Regions from separate parts of the Homo sapiens genome. Here all the other regions are linked to region 1. The links are contacts of gene promoters, found by promoter capture Hi-C in blood cells and fetal thymus (Javierre and others, 2016). All regions are on one chromosome and are shown on one strand. The core of a region is centred on a gene start or on the middle of the fragment in contact, and the rest is flanking DNA. Distances in the headings are between cores, read along the strand shown. Region 1 holds the start of ECT2L (epithelial cell transforming 2 like). Region 2 has its middle 34 kb from the start of HECA. Region 3 has its middle 44 kb from the start of ABRACL.

What was found. Contacts are between HindIII fragments. The CHiCAGO score rates a contact against its expected background, and 5 or more counts as called.
Region 2: a fragment that was not itself captured here is called in contact with the fragment with the promoter of ECT2L in region 1 in 1 of 17 cell types (endothelial precursors); the score reaches 5.4 in endothelial precursors.
Region 3: a contact is called between a fragment that was not itself captured here and the fragment with the promoter of ECT2L in region 1, in 1 of 17 cell types (endothelial precursors). The highest score is 5.4, in endothelial precursors.

The regions. Positions count from the first base shown.
Region 1 is chr6:138,794,258-138,798,901 of GRCh38, forward strand. ECT2L (epithelial cell transforming 2 like) reads left to right here and starts at 1,830. Exons shown (of 22, transcript NM_001077706.3): 1 at 1,830-1,935. The HindIII fragment of the contact is 4,734 bases long and covers 1,597-4,644 here.
Region 2 is chr6:139,098,635-139,103,278 of GRCh38, forward strand. No RefSeq gene overlaps it. Among named protein-coding and RNA genes, the nearest start is that of HECA, 34 kb to the right of the region's middle. The HindIII fragment of the contact is 255 bases long and covers 2,468-2,722 here.
Region 3 is chr6:139,070,267-139,074,910 of GRCh38, forward strand. No RefSeq gene overlaps it. Among named protein-coding and RNA genes, the nearest start is that of ABRACL, 44 kb to the left of the region's middle. The HindIII fragment of the contact is 2,197 bases long and covers 832-3,028 here.

The DNA of each region.
Region 1 (4,644 bases), core at 580-3,079:
CTTTCCAGCTCTCTGGATTTTCTATTCTAGACATTTTATATAAATGGAATCATACAATACGTGGCCTTTTGTGACTGGTTTCGTTTACTTAGCATGATGTTTTCAAGGATTGAAGCTTCATCCATGTTATTGCATGTACTTCATTTCTTGTTTTGGCTGATCATATGCCATGGTATGGATAGAACACATTTTGCTTATTTATAACTCAGTTACCTTTGTGTTGCAGAAGATGCTCATGCTTCTGTCTCCTTGTTTCCAGGCCACAGAAATAAGCACCTAATTGGGGGAGGGGAGGAGAGGGACTTACTGAATATTTTTCAAATCTTGATTTTAATAATTTTTGGCTTTCTGAATTCAAAGTATTTTGATCAGTAAATTGGTCTTTTTAATACCCCTTTTAAAAATTACAGCATCATGGAGGAAACTTCATTTGGGTTGTGAGAATAGGGATTTAAGGGGGAAAAAGTCGTACTCTAGGGTCTGACAGGGCGAAAGGACACTTTGTCATGTGACATGTTTTTCTTGGATTGGTCCTGAGATAGAGTAAAGCAAAAAGCTGGTTCCTGCGGGTTGTGACAGAGCAGTGGATTGACCTTGTTTATTCACTTGGTTCATTCGCCCTTTGTGTCACAGGGCCCTAAATGGGTCCCAGGTAGCGAAATATTAGCTTATCTAATTTGTATCCTTTCACACTCCTTAAACACATGTTCAAGGAAACAGGAAAAAATGCAGTGCCTGGATTAGAATAAAATTTAAGGCCTGGTTTGGTGACAGGCACCAGTACTTTTAGCTACTCTGGAGGCTGAGGCGGGAGGATTGCTTGAGCCCAGGAGTTCTAGGCTATAGTGTACAATGATGATTTTACTGGCATACAGATGAAAAAGAAAAAGATATTTGAAATAAAAATAAAAATATAGTGCACAATGACCAGGCCTGTGAATAGCCACTGCACTCCAGCCTAGGCAGCATAGCAAGATCACATTTCTCATATGAAACTTTACTAGAATGAAACTTATGGTTTATTACATAGATGTTGCTTATTCGTTGTAGGAAAAATTGAATTACAGATGATTTTTAAAACTACCAGAGCAAACCATTTAACCTATTTGTGTACATACTCCCAGATTTCTTACACACGTTGCAAAAAAAATAGATCGTACCATTCTGCTGGTTTTCTAAGCTGCTTTTTGTAAGTAATGTACTGTGAGCATCTTTTCATGGCCATAACTATTACATACAAAAGAAAAAAACAGGCTTCACAATAAATAGTTAAAAGACATTTTGACCTGAAACTAATGAAGAAGGGTTTTTTGGTTTTGTTTTTGTACCTCCTGTATAATGCTGAAATTGGTAATTCTGCAGTAAATATTAACATTTTCTGAGGATCTGCTGAAGATGAATGTGACAAAAAATAAGAAACTCCACTTTCCTCATCACACAGCCTTAATTAACATCGCTGGCTTTGTTTGAGATCAAGCAAACGTTGGCTTCAGTGTCCAAGTCTCTTCTTGGGGTCCCACGGCCTTGGGTCTGGCACCTCTGCTGGGCACCTCGCAGGGCTTCCGAGACGTGCCGCGACCCACGGGACCCCACGGAAGCTTTCTCCCACCGCAAGCTCCCTGGAGGCAGGGAAAGGAGCCGGGACCCGAGCCTAGCTGGCCTCAAGAGAAGGGCGGTGGCTCGCACGGCGCGGGCGGCTTTGCTCACTGCAGCTGGGGAGATGCAGGTTGGCCGTCCGGGCGCGGCGGCGGGAGGGGCTGCGGGCCTGTGGGGCGGGGTGGTGGCTCCGTGTTGTTGGATCCCTATGGAGATGACCCTGTCCCTGCCCCACCCCTCTCCGGAGCTGCGGCCCGAGTTGGCGCACTCGATTTTCACTGCGCGGTTCCAAGAGGAGACAGCCGCCACTGTACCGGGCCTCATAGCCACTTCCTAGAGGTAAAGCCCGTGGCTTCTGAGCCGCTAGTCTTTTTCTTGGGGCCGCCCGGGGCACATCGCCTGGGCCGGCTTAGTTTCCCAGTGCAGTCGCCCAGGAAGACCCTAAGCAGCGCTGAGGGGCGCAGGGCCCTCCCTCCGCGACCCTGGAGTCCCTTAGCAGCTCTGGAATTAACCAAGATTCTGAAGAGGCTCTGGGGAGAAACAAAATCCACGCGTAGGGTAGGGTTTGCATCGGGCCATGCCAAGTAAACTCTTACCTCCTCCAGAGAACTGATTTGGGATCGAAGTAAAGTTCTTGAACACTTTGGAAAACGCTGATTTTCATAGGTTCACACCAACTGCCTTCTTCCTTCTGACAGTTCTCTCCCTCTTTCCTCCTATGGGGTCCAAAAATGTAGGGAGTAGGGTGGGGGCTGGGTTGGGGGAATGAGGGAGGAATACAAAAAATCTACTGTGAATATAGGTCTTGGTTATAAGGATAGCTCTAAGAGTTAATATGCTAAGATTTGATGAGCAGGACAAATAAAACAGTGGTACTTTAAAATATCGATTTAAAAATACCGATGCTGTGCTTATTAATAAACTTTGCATATGTATCAGAACACAATATCCTGACATCATTGGTGTTAAAGTTCACTGCAACCCATGCAATTGTATCCAAGCCTGTTAAAGTCTGTTCTGCAGGAACTGACATTTGTGCTCCACAGAAACCTCAAAAATCATGCTCTACAAACACTTATTTCAGTGGGAGGAAGAAGGGTTAAGGACTTGGAAGTTTTATAGCAACAGTTGCATCTTGTTTGTTACAGCTTTAGTTTTATAGCTTTAAACTTATAAATCAGTGAGCACATCCACCATTTGAAAATACCAGCACAAGTATGGTATTTTCTATCACCGCCTGTAAGATCAATAGCCCAGGTTTCCTCAAAACACGCCATTATTTTCATTATCCATTGCTTAGTGTGTACTTAATAAAAATTATATACTGGCATGTAGTTTTACATGCCCTAAATGTGGGACATTTAACTCAACTGGAATTGTCTTTCATTTCTGTTTTTTCACCAATCACACTTACTTTTCTTCTACTCCCGTTCTTTTGTGCGATCTTTAGAACCAGATACCTTTTTGGAGGCATATTTAAGGAAGTAAATTTTTGATAAATAAAGGAATCATTGCACAATTTGCATGTGTGAATTGCAGAAGTACGCGCATGTAGGTACATACCTCTGCCGAGGAGCAGTGTTTTAATTTCTAAGCCACTCTGTCTACTGTAGTGGAGAAGGACCAGACTAACTTGCATTTCTCCAGCTGTATAACAGATAACCTGTGGAAACACAGTTAATTGACATCATTGCTCTTCTGTGTGATCCCAGTGAGGATTTAGCTCTCTATATGGGCTGGCAATTGTTCAGCCATTTCATCTTTTAATCTGGCTTTGGTTGTTCTGAGAGGAAAAAAAAAACAAAAAACTTTTTTCTCTTTACTCTCACACACTCAGTACAGCCCTTCACCTCTTGTCACCAAAATGTATGGGAATTTCTTCCCACCGACAACCAATTCTCCAGTGGCCACCAACTCTACGTCCTATAATTTAACCCAGTTCTGACACTGTGTACCTGGAGTTAGTGTCAGATCCCATACGTTCAGGGCTCAGTCCCAAAAGACTGCCCCCCACTTCAAATGCCAATCACAAGTCCCAGGTTGTGACTATATGTTGTTTATGATTAACCAACCAGTTACAAATCTGGATTCCCACAAGCCCCTCCTCCGGTTTGATTAATTTGCTAGAGTGACTCACGGAATTCAAGGAAACACTTTACTTATGTTTGCCCATTTATTATAAAGGATATTACAAAGGACAGATGAATAGCCAGATAGAAGAGAGGCCCAGAGAAAGGTATGTGGGCAAGGGTGTGGAACTTCCATGCCTTCTCAGCCCCTCCACATGTTCAGCTATCCCAAAGATCCCTGAATCTTGTCCTTTGGGATTTTAATGGAGGATTCATTCATAGGCACAATTGATGACATCATTGGCCATTGGTGATCACTCAACTTGAGCCCTTCTCTCTTCCCCAGAGGTCAGAGGATGGAGCTGAAAGTTCCAGCTGCATAATCACATGGTTGGTTTCCCTGGTAACCAGCCCCCATCCTGAAGCTATCTAGGGGTCCACCAAGATTCACTTCATCTGAACAAAAGATGCTCCTATCACCCAGGAAATTCCAAGGGATTTCGGAGCTCTGTGTCAGGAACTGGGGTCAAAAACCAAATATTAGAACAAAAGATTCTCCTAGCATCCCTATCTACAAGAGTTTTAGGAGCTGTATGTCAGGAACCAGGGACAAAGATCAAATATATATATTTCTTATTATTCTACCATATCACAGGTTGTCACACAACAGGCCCCATCCTTCTTTTGACTAAGCATGGAAGTGCCAATGTCAATTTCCGAGTTCCTCATCAATATACCAGTTGTAAAGGATAGTCAGCCACGACATAGAAGTGTATTTCCAAATACATCCGTAGCAGTTGTTAAAGCAAACTAAATATGGCCTAAGATGGACTCTGTACTTTTATATTTGAATGCTTGTGGGTGAATTGCAACCTAATTTAATAGGTAGACAAGAATGAAAACCTAACTTAGGAGTATGTGCCTGTAATAATCGCTGAGTCTTGGCCAATCCCAGGAGCCGTACTTCAACCACTCATAC
Region 2 (4,644 bases), core at 1,345-3,844, 310 kb after region 1:
CAGTGGCGAGTTCTCAGTGAAATCCCACCTCCAAGCAGAAGAGAGTTTAAAGCCTGAAAGCCAAACTACAAGTTAAATCCCCAGACTGGATTGAGAACTTGTCCTCCTGTTTGGCGTGCTTTCCTCTGATTAATCCCCATCACCTATTTTACATATATCTATCCTTTTCTAACTTGTTTTCTATACTGTCATGCCCACTTTTGAGTGGTATCTTCACCTTAACCTTTTTTGCATACTCACAAGCCAATCAGCATGCACTCCTCATCCTGTGCCTATGAAGACCCCAGACTCAGTCAGTAGAGGAGGAGACAGCCTGACTTTGGTGAAGATGACCTGCCCTTCCTGGCCCCTCTTCAGCTCCCCTGTCCACTGAGAGCTGTTTTCATCACTCAGTAAAATTCTCTGTCTTCACCATCCTTCAGCCGTCCACGTGACCTCATTCTTCTTGGATGCTGGACAAGAGCTTGGGACCCACTGAGTGCGGGTACCCTGAAAAGGTTGTCACACTGGCCCTTTGCCCTCTCTGGCAGAGGGCAGTCACCCCACACAATGAGGCAAGGGGCCAGCTGAGCTGCTAACACACTGCCGTCCATCAGACTGCAGATGATGGAATTAAACAGCACTGTGACACCTGCTCTGGGCCTTCAGGGTCATAGGCACCCTCACCTGGGTGCCACCACGTTCCCTTTGAGGCAACACACCTGGTCTGACTGCAGGCCCCACATGGAGCTTGCTTCTGTGTTGGCACCCAGAGCAGCCATCTGGATCCCGCACTCGCCCACTCACAAGCTCCCTCCACATGGGGCTGAGCACAGTGGGCCAAGTAGACGTGGTGCCCCTGCCGCATGTCCAGTGAAGGGGTGAAAAAAACTCATGCATCAGTATAGACTCATAAATATTTATTTTATATTTTGAGTGATAGTCCAATGTTATTTCTTTTAGTTGTTGTCGTTGCACAAATTGTTCCAGCTTGGCCATTGAAAGCTCTTTCCTTTGACTCCTGGGTCCTTTTGACTACCCTCATTGTTCGTGTGTGTCTGGGGGCAGGGGGTTTGCATGATTTAGCACTTCCTTACTTTCTGGCACTATGAGATGTTCCAGGCCCACCTTGTATATTTTCTGTTTCAATCTTAGAATCAGCCATTTCACCAAGATGCTCTGGTTACTTTTATTGGAATGCGGGTGCTAAGTGTGCTTGTTACTCCAGTGTTGTTGTTTCTAGGCCCTCTTAGCAGACAGTGCAAGGAAATCTATGTGTGTATACTAACATGTATATATATACACACGCACACACACATACAAATTTCTATATGTAACCATCTGTATCTATATTAAGCTAAACATGAATTCATATTGATGCCTCCAACTTTATTCCTTAATACTAAGATTGCTCTAGACTCTCCCCTTGCTTATCTGTAACCTCCAACTTCAACAGTGAGAAACCTGGCTCCTACCACCTGCCATGTGTTTACTTCATTGTTCAACCAGAGTATACATGTAGAATAGTAGCAGAATTGTTAAACTCTGTGGGAAACAACTTTCTCAGCTAGAAGTATAGTGCCTGTGTAGTTTCTTTTGCCTTTAGTTTCTCAGACTTTGCTCATTTCCAAAGTTTGAGGTCAGCGCCTGAAACATTTGTAAGGCTGTTTCATGCATTTGTAATAGAGTTAGATTGTTTTGTCACATTCTGCCTTTCGTCCTGGGATTCCCCTGACCTCCTAGTTTTGTTTTAATTTTCATACATAACTATATTCTTTGTGTTAGCAGCACTACTTTAAAAAATAATTTTTTTCTTCAACATCTAATTTGTAAGTCTTTATCACACATTAAAATCTTATGTCTAGTAATGTCTGTATTTCTTTGCTTACTATGTGTGTGGTATGTAAACCTCCTATCTAGCAATTAAATAAAAATTTATTTCAAGTTAGAGCAGAGAAAAATACAAAACTTCCTTGGAGGCACTATCCTACAACCCAGGCTAATAGGATTCCCACAGAATAAAACAAGTTTATTGGCATACACAGAAAGTTACAAACATATCATTAACCATGGGTGACAGCAGATACAACAAAGATTCATACCCCCAGGAATTTGAAATATAAAGTGAACAATGAAATAAATTATTAAAAAATAAGTAAAAAACAAATATTGATGATTATTTGGGGGAGTTAACAACAAATAGTTACATGGAAAATGAGTTACTTGAGAGATGAGAGGGTGTTTGTGAATATAGGTAGTTCAGGTTCTCCTATTGCCAAGTATCAGGTCCAAGGTACTAATGAATTTAGATTTTGTTAAGTGTCTGGGCAAAGTAGTTCCACCGAGGGCTGATTCCAGGTCTTAATGAAAATGAGCACTTTGACTAATAAATCGTGTACTGTCGCATCTTACTGTGATAAGCTCTAAGCATAATGGAAAACATCAGGCAGGCAGACGTGCAGTGAGCATGGTTTTCAAGTCCCCCCAAAGCTTCACAGACATGCCTGAGTGGGCAGTAGTTTTCCACCTGTTTAAGGTAAGGCATTGTTTATCATGCCTTTTGTATACCAGTTTCTAAAACTCCAACATAATTACCTTTTATGTTTGCAAAAGCGGTCTTTAGGTAGCTGTATCATTGAACCTCTGTTTCTGGGTACACAAGTTATACATAACATCTAGGCTGTGGTTGTATGCAACTAGTTATCTCCTGGGTTGCAAAGCTGAAGAGTGGTTAGGTAAGACAAGCTTGGCCAGAACCTACTGTAGCTTGTTAAAAATCTAAGAACAAAATGAAACTAATTGGAATACTAAAAAGTAAGACTTCCAAACCTGTTGAAAAATAAAAGGAAATGTAGAAAACCAAATTCACCAAAAAGAAGTCAGGAAAGAAGAAAGAGAAAAAGGAGGAAGAAGAAGAAATGTAAACGGCATAATAAAAGCACAAAATGAGATACTAAAATTAAATCTAAATATATAATGTATTAATATAAATGAATTAACACAGTATTTAAAAAACAGAGATTGTCAGATTGAATTTTAAAAATCCAGTTAAATGGAGCAGTGGTTCACGCCTGTAATCCCTGCACTTTGGGAAGCTGAGGCAGGTGGATCACTTGAGGTCAGGAGTTTGAGACCAGCCTGGACAACATGGTGAAATTCTGTCTCTACTAAAAATACAAAAATTAACCGGGAGTGGTGGTGGGCACCTGTAATCCCAGCTACTCAGGAGGTTGAGGCATGAGAATCATTTAACCCAGGAGGCGGAGGTTGCAGTGAGCCGAGATCACACCACTGCACTATAGCCTGGGTGACAGAGCGTCTCAAAAAAAAAAAAAAAATGCTGTTACACGTTTATAACACCTAACACAGGATAGCATGGGGACATTGTAAATAAATAAATAAATAATTCATACCAGAAAAATCTCAATCGAAAGAAAACTGGTATAACTATAGTAATTCCACACAAAATAGACTCTAAAGAAAAAAAGAGTGTTATTAGTTACAAAGAGGATCATTACATAATAATAAAATGAACAATTCATTGGGAAGCTGTACCAACTCTGAATCTATACCTTGTACAATACAGCCTTGAATTAAATATCCAAAATCTAACAGAATTACAAGAAGAAATGGATAAATTCATATAATTCCCTCAGTAATAAATGAAGCAGTCTAAAAGAAATAAGTAAAGTTATAGAAGGTTGATACCACACAATTTAAAAACTTGATCGAATTGATATAAATGGAATTCTGCACATATTTAGAAAATATACATGCTTTTCAGCCAGGTGCAGTGGCTCACACCTGTAATCCTACCACTTTGGGAGGCTGAGGTGGGTGGATCACCTGAGGTCAGGAGTTCAAGACCAGCCTGGCCAACATGGTGAAAACCCATTTCTACTAAAAATACAAAAATTAGCTGGGTGTGGTGGCACATGCCTGTAACACCAGCTACTCAGGAGGCTGAGGCAGGAGAATTGCTGGAACGTGGGAGGCGGAGGTTGCAGTGAGCCTAGATTGCACCACTGCACTCCAGCCTGGGCGACAGAGTGAGACTCCATCTGAAAAAAAAAAAGAAAATATACATGCTTTTCAAATTCTCATGGCACTTGTACAAAAATTGGATGACTACTAACCACAAAACAGATTTCAACAAAAACCAAAGAATAAATGCCATGCAGATTACATTATCTGATATCAGTGTAATAAAATTAGAAATTAACAAGAAGGTCATCAAATCTCCATTCAATTAAAAATAAAATAATGTGCATGTGTATGATTAAATCATAATGAAATTATATATATATATATATATATTTTTTTTTTTTTTTTTTTTTTTTTTGAGACAGAGTTTCACTCTTGTCACCCAGGCTGGAGTGCAGTGGCGCAATCTTGGCTCACTGCAACCTTCACCTCCTGGGTTCAAGCGATTCTCCTGCTTCAGCCTCCCCAGTAGCTGGGATTACAGGTGCCCACCACCACACCAGGCTAATTTTTGTATTTTCAGTAGAGACAGGTTTTCGTCATGTTGGCCAGGCTTGTCTCGAACGCCTGACCTCAGGTGATCCACCCACCTCGGCCTCCCAAAGTGCTGGGATTACAGGTGTGAGCCACCGTGCCTGGCCCAAATGATATATTTTTTAAAGAACAATAATGGCACTAATT
Region 3 (4,644 bases), core at 680-3,179, 280 kb after region 1:
AAAGGAACCAACCAACCAAACTTCCTTGACATCTAAACACACCAGGCACATACTCAGTAACAATTATTATTATGCTGAGAAAGGCCAGCTGTCATTTATAGGCAGAGATAGATAGATATAGAATATATAGAGATATAGAAATAGTTAACAATAATTTTTCTACACCCATATAGTAGATTGTGGCATTTTAAATTCCCATGTCTCAGAAAGAATGCGATAATTAAATCATTTTACTAATCCCATAATTATCTTTATGTTTTTCAACAAGGAGGGAGTGAGTCTGGGAAAGGCTTCAAGAGTGATATAACTTGAGTGGCACACACCTGTAATCCCAATACTTTGGGAGGCCAAGGTGGGAGGACTGTTTGAGACCAGCCTGGGCAAAATAGGGAGACCATGTCTCTACAGAAATTTTTTAAAAAAAATTATTGGAGCATGGTTGCAGGTGCCTGCAATCCCAGCTACTTGGGAGGCTGAGGTGGAAGGATCACTTGAGCCTGGCAGGTCAAGGCTGCAGTGAGCTCTGATCATGCCACTTCACTATAGCCTGGGCAACAGAGTGAGACCTTGTCTCTAAAAAAAAGAGAAGAGTAGATGTTTGCCATGATGAAGTGAGGGATTAAGGTTATTTCAGGGCACAGAGGAGAGAGAGAAAGGGTCCAAAGACAAAGGACAACTTAGTGTAGCTCAGTTTGTCTGAAGTGAAGGATGGGAGAAATATGGTCAAAAATCAGTCTAGCAAGCCAAGGAAGAGTCAGAGCATATGCTAAGATCTAGTGTTTCTCTTGAAGAAGTTGGTGCTTCATGACACAGGCAACAAAAGCCGTTTAAAGCTTTGGCACAAGCTGAGACTCTAATAAGAAAACCTTGCCATCAGAAAAACGGGAAAACCAAAAAGCAAGGTCTCAAACTGAGGCAGTTAGCTACAGGGTTAGAGAAAGCGGGAATGACAGTAGGGATGTTAGGGATATAAAAGAATCAAGGTTTGGCTACTAGGTGGATGTGGGGAGTGAGAGAGAAGGAGCCATGGGGAATGGTCCAGGTTTCTCGGTTGGTTATGATGTCAGGATTGTGCTTGACTATCACAGTTGGCAACACAATCTACTGCTATTCTGCAGATTTGTGATGCCTCTCCTAGCTTTCTGCGCAACCTTCTTTAGAATGGCTTTTCGTCCTCGTGCTTGTCATCTTGTTAATGTAAGAAGCATGTGCTACTTTCAGCATCACATTGGTCCAAGCTGGATGAAGGGAAGGGTTGCAGGGCAAAAGGCAGAGACAGCCCTTTTAAAAAGAGCCTTCCTGGGCCAGGCACGGTGGCTCATGCCTGTAATCCCAGCATTTTGGGAGACTGAGGTGGGTGGGTCATCTGAGGTCAGGAGTTCGGGACCAGCCTGGCCAACATGGTGAAACCCCCCATCTCTACTAAAAATACAAAAATTAGCTGGGGATGGTGGTGCATGCCTGTGATTCCAGCTACTTGGGAGGCTGAGGCAGAAAAGTTGCTTGAACCCAGGAGGCGGAGGTTTCAGTGAGCTGAGATCACACCACTACACTTCAGCCTGGGCAACAGAGTGAGACTCCATCTCAAAAAAAAAAAAAAAAATAGAGCCTTCCTGGATGTCCCACCCATGTCATTATGATATGCAGTAGCCTGAGCAGTTTGTATAGCTACCCCTAGTTGCAAGGGAGGTTCTTTATTTTTTGGTTGTTGAATTATTTTATTTTTTATATGTGTCTTTGTTTACCTTATTATTTTTTAAAATAAAAAATTGCATATATTTCCAAGAAAGTTTTTAAGCGGAATAGATTGCTTCTCTGAACTAAAAGTGATTCTGTTAGTGAAGAATGGATACTGAGTGGCCAACAACAGCATTTCCCACAGATCATTGTGGAGATGCTAGTTTCATGCTCTGAGACAGGAAATATAGGATGAGTAGCAGGCCTCAGTGGAAAGACAATAAATTCAGTTATGGATGTGTTGTGTTTGAGGTTACTATGAGTTATCCAGCTGAGATATTCAGTTGAATAAGCACGACTAATGATAATCTGGGGGGGTTCTTGACCTATAGATGACAGTTGGCCCTTCTCAATAATAATTGTTATTGATTATGTGTTTGATTATTTTTAGGTATCAAAGCAGGTTGGTTATTTGGTTCTTAATAGCAGTGGCCTTCAAACTAGAATATTCCTGGAGTACCTGAAGACTTTCCAAGGGTCATGTGAGCACACACAGTTCTAAGGGAATCAATTTCTAGGTTCTCAAATTCCATACATACTCTTACTTGAAACTGATCTGCCTGAGAACCGGCTGCCATATTTAGGAAGGGTCTTCATTGTCACCCACTTCCACAGAACTCCTTCTCCCACTTTAGGGACCTCTACCAAGCCAGAATTTTATATTACATCACTTAACTATAGATTTGTTGTAAGAAATCACATTATTTTCTTGTTTTATAATTTATTATAAAAATGAAAAAATCCTATTACCTCTACATAATGACTTTATGACTTTTAGCAATCTACTTTATGAAATGTTCTTCATAATTTAATAAATTTAATTTATTAAATTTAAATTTAATGGTTTTTGCAATGTTCCTTAAAATCCATATCAACATATTTATTTGAATGGAAACTGAAGTCCTTCTGAAGAATGTAAGCCTAACGTTGCCTTTGCCAATCAGGTTGGATGGCAAACATTTTCCACAGATTCAGTGAGCTAAATCTGTTGTCTTAGGTCATCAAAGTTTTGACATAAAATATATTGAAAACATGTGAGAAGATAAAAATAATTTTATTAAAAATTCTGAATTGGCTAAGGTACATTAAAAGAAAGAAATTTTATTTTCCCAACCCCTTTGAATATCTCTTACTTTAGAAAATGCCTTTGAGCCAAAAATAACATATATATTTAATAACCATTTGATAAGTCTTGGCAAGCCTTTCTTGGAGAAAACCCTGATACCTGGATAAAAACCTCTTTGCAAGCCAGGTGGTTTCCAACTCTTTTCATCTAACAAAATTGAAGACAAGCTTAATCAAGCTGTCATTTGCTAGAACATGAAAAATAATGTTATGATAGATCGCTAGGTGATTTTTGACATAAAATTTAGAACGAGTTGAAAGGATTGACTGATTTTTGTTTCAGCAAACCTTTTCTGTCCCCATTTATTCACATAAGCAAGATTTCTTAGCCCTTACATTTATAAAATGAAAACAAAAATGATGTCAAATCATTTTCATATTATTAATAAATACTATTCATGGATAGACATATGAACTAATTTTAAAAACAAAGCACATTCATCTCATAAAGAGATGCACTCCCAACAAAAATTTTCTTTTATGTTTAATAATTTTCTATCAAAAGTGTCAGCATGTTGATCTGTTTTGATCAACTGTGTATTAGCAATTGTAATGGCAGAAAATGTTAATTAGAGCATTATGAGCACATAAAGTAAAAAGTGTTCAATGTATATACACAATTGTGCAGATCATATGATGTGGTGATCTATAAAAGATTTTTAAGCATAGAATGATACTACATTTGGATAAATTTATGTGGAGTAGGTAGAATAGAATTAGCAGGGGACAAAGTGAAATTTTTGACTGCTAAAAGCAACTTCTTGTTCAGATCTTTTAAAACCATACACTTATGAGTATCACACTTCTAGGGCAGCAGTCCTCAACCTTTTTGACACCAGGGACCAGTTTGGTGGAAGACAATTTTTCTGTGAATGGGGGGAGGGGATAGTTTCTGGATGATTTAAGTGCATTACATTTATTGTGCACTTTATTTCTATTATTATTACATTGTAATATATAATGAAATAATTATACAACTCACCATAATGTAGAATCAGTGGGAGCCCTCAGCTTGTTTTCCTGCAACTAGACAGTTCCATCTGGGGTGATGGGAGACAGTGACAGATCATCAGGCATTAGATTCTCATAAGGAACTTGCAACCTACATCCCTCGCATGCACAGTTCACAATAGGGGTAGCACTCCTATGAGAATCTAATGCCTGATTCTGTACTTCTGGAATCAGGAATAAAATGTGTCAAGCAGTACATAATTTTACAAAATCTTTTTTTTTTTTTTTTTTTTTTGTGACAGAGTCTTGCTCTGTCGCCCAGGCTGGAGTGCAGTGGTGCGATCTCAGCTCACTGCAACCTCTGCCTCCCCAGTTCAAGCCACTCTCCTGCCTCAGCCTTCTGAGTGGCTGGGACTACAGGTGCACGCCACCACGCCTAGCTAACTTCTTTTTTTTTTTTTTTTTGAGACAGAGTCTTGCTCTGTCACCCAGGCTGGAGTGCAGTGTCATGACCTTGGCTCCCTGCAAGCTCCGCCTCCCAGGTTCATGCCATTCTCCTGCCTCAGCCTCCCTAGTAGCTGGGACTACAGGTGCCTGCCACCACACCTAGCTAATTTTTTGTATTTTTTTTTTAGTAGAGACGGGGTTTCACCATGTTGGCCAGGATGGTCTCGATCTCCTGACCTCGTGATCCGCCCGCCTCGGCCTCCCAACTTCTTTTGTATTTTAGTAGAGATGGGGTTTCACAGTGTTGCTCAGGCTGGTATCGAACTCCTGAGCTCAGGCAATCTGCCCTCCTCTGCCTCCCAAAGTGCTAGGATTACAGGCAGG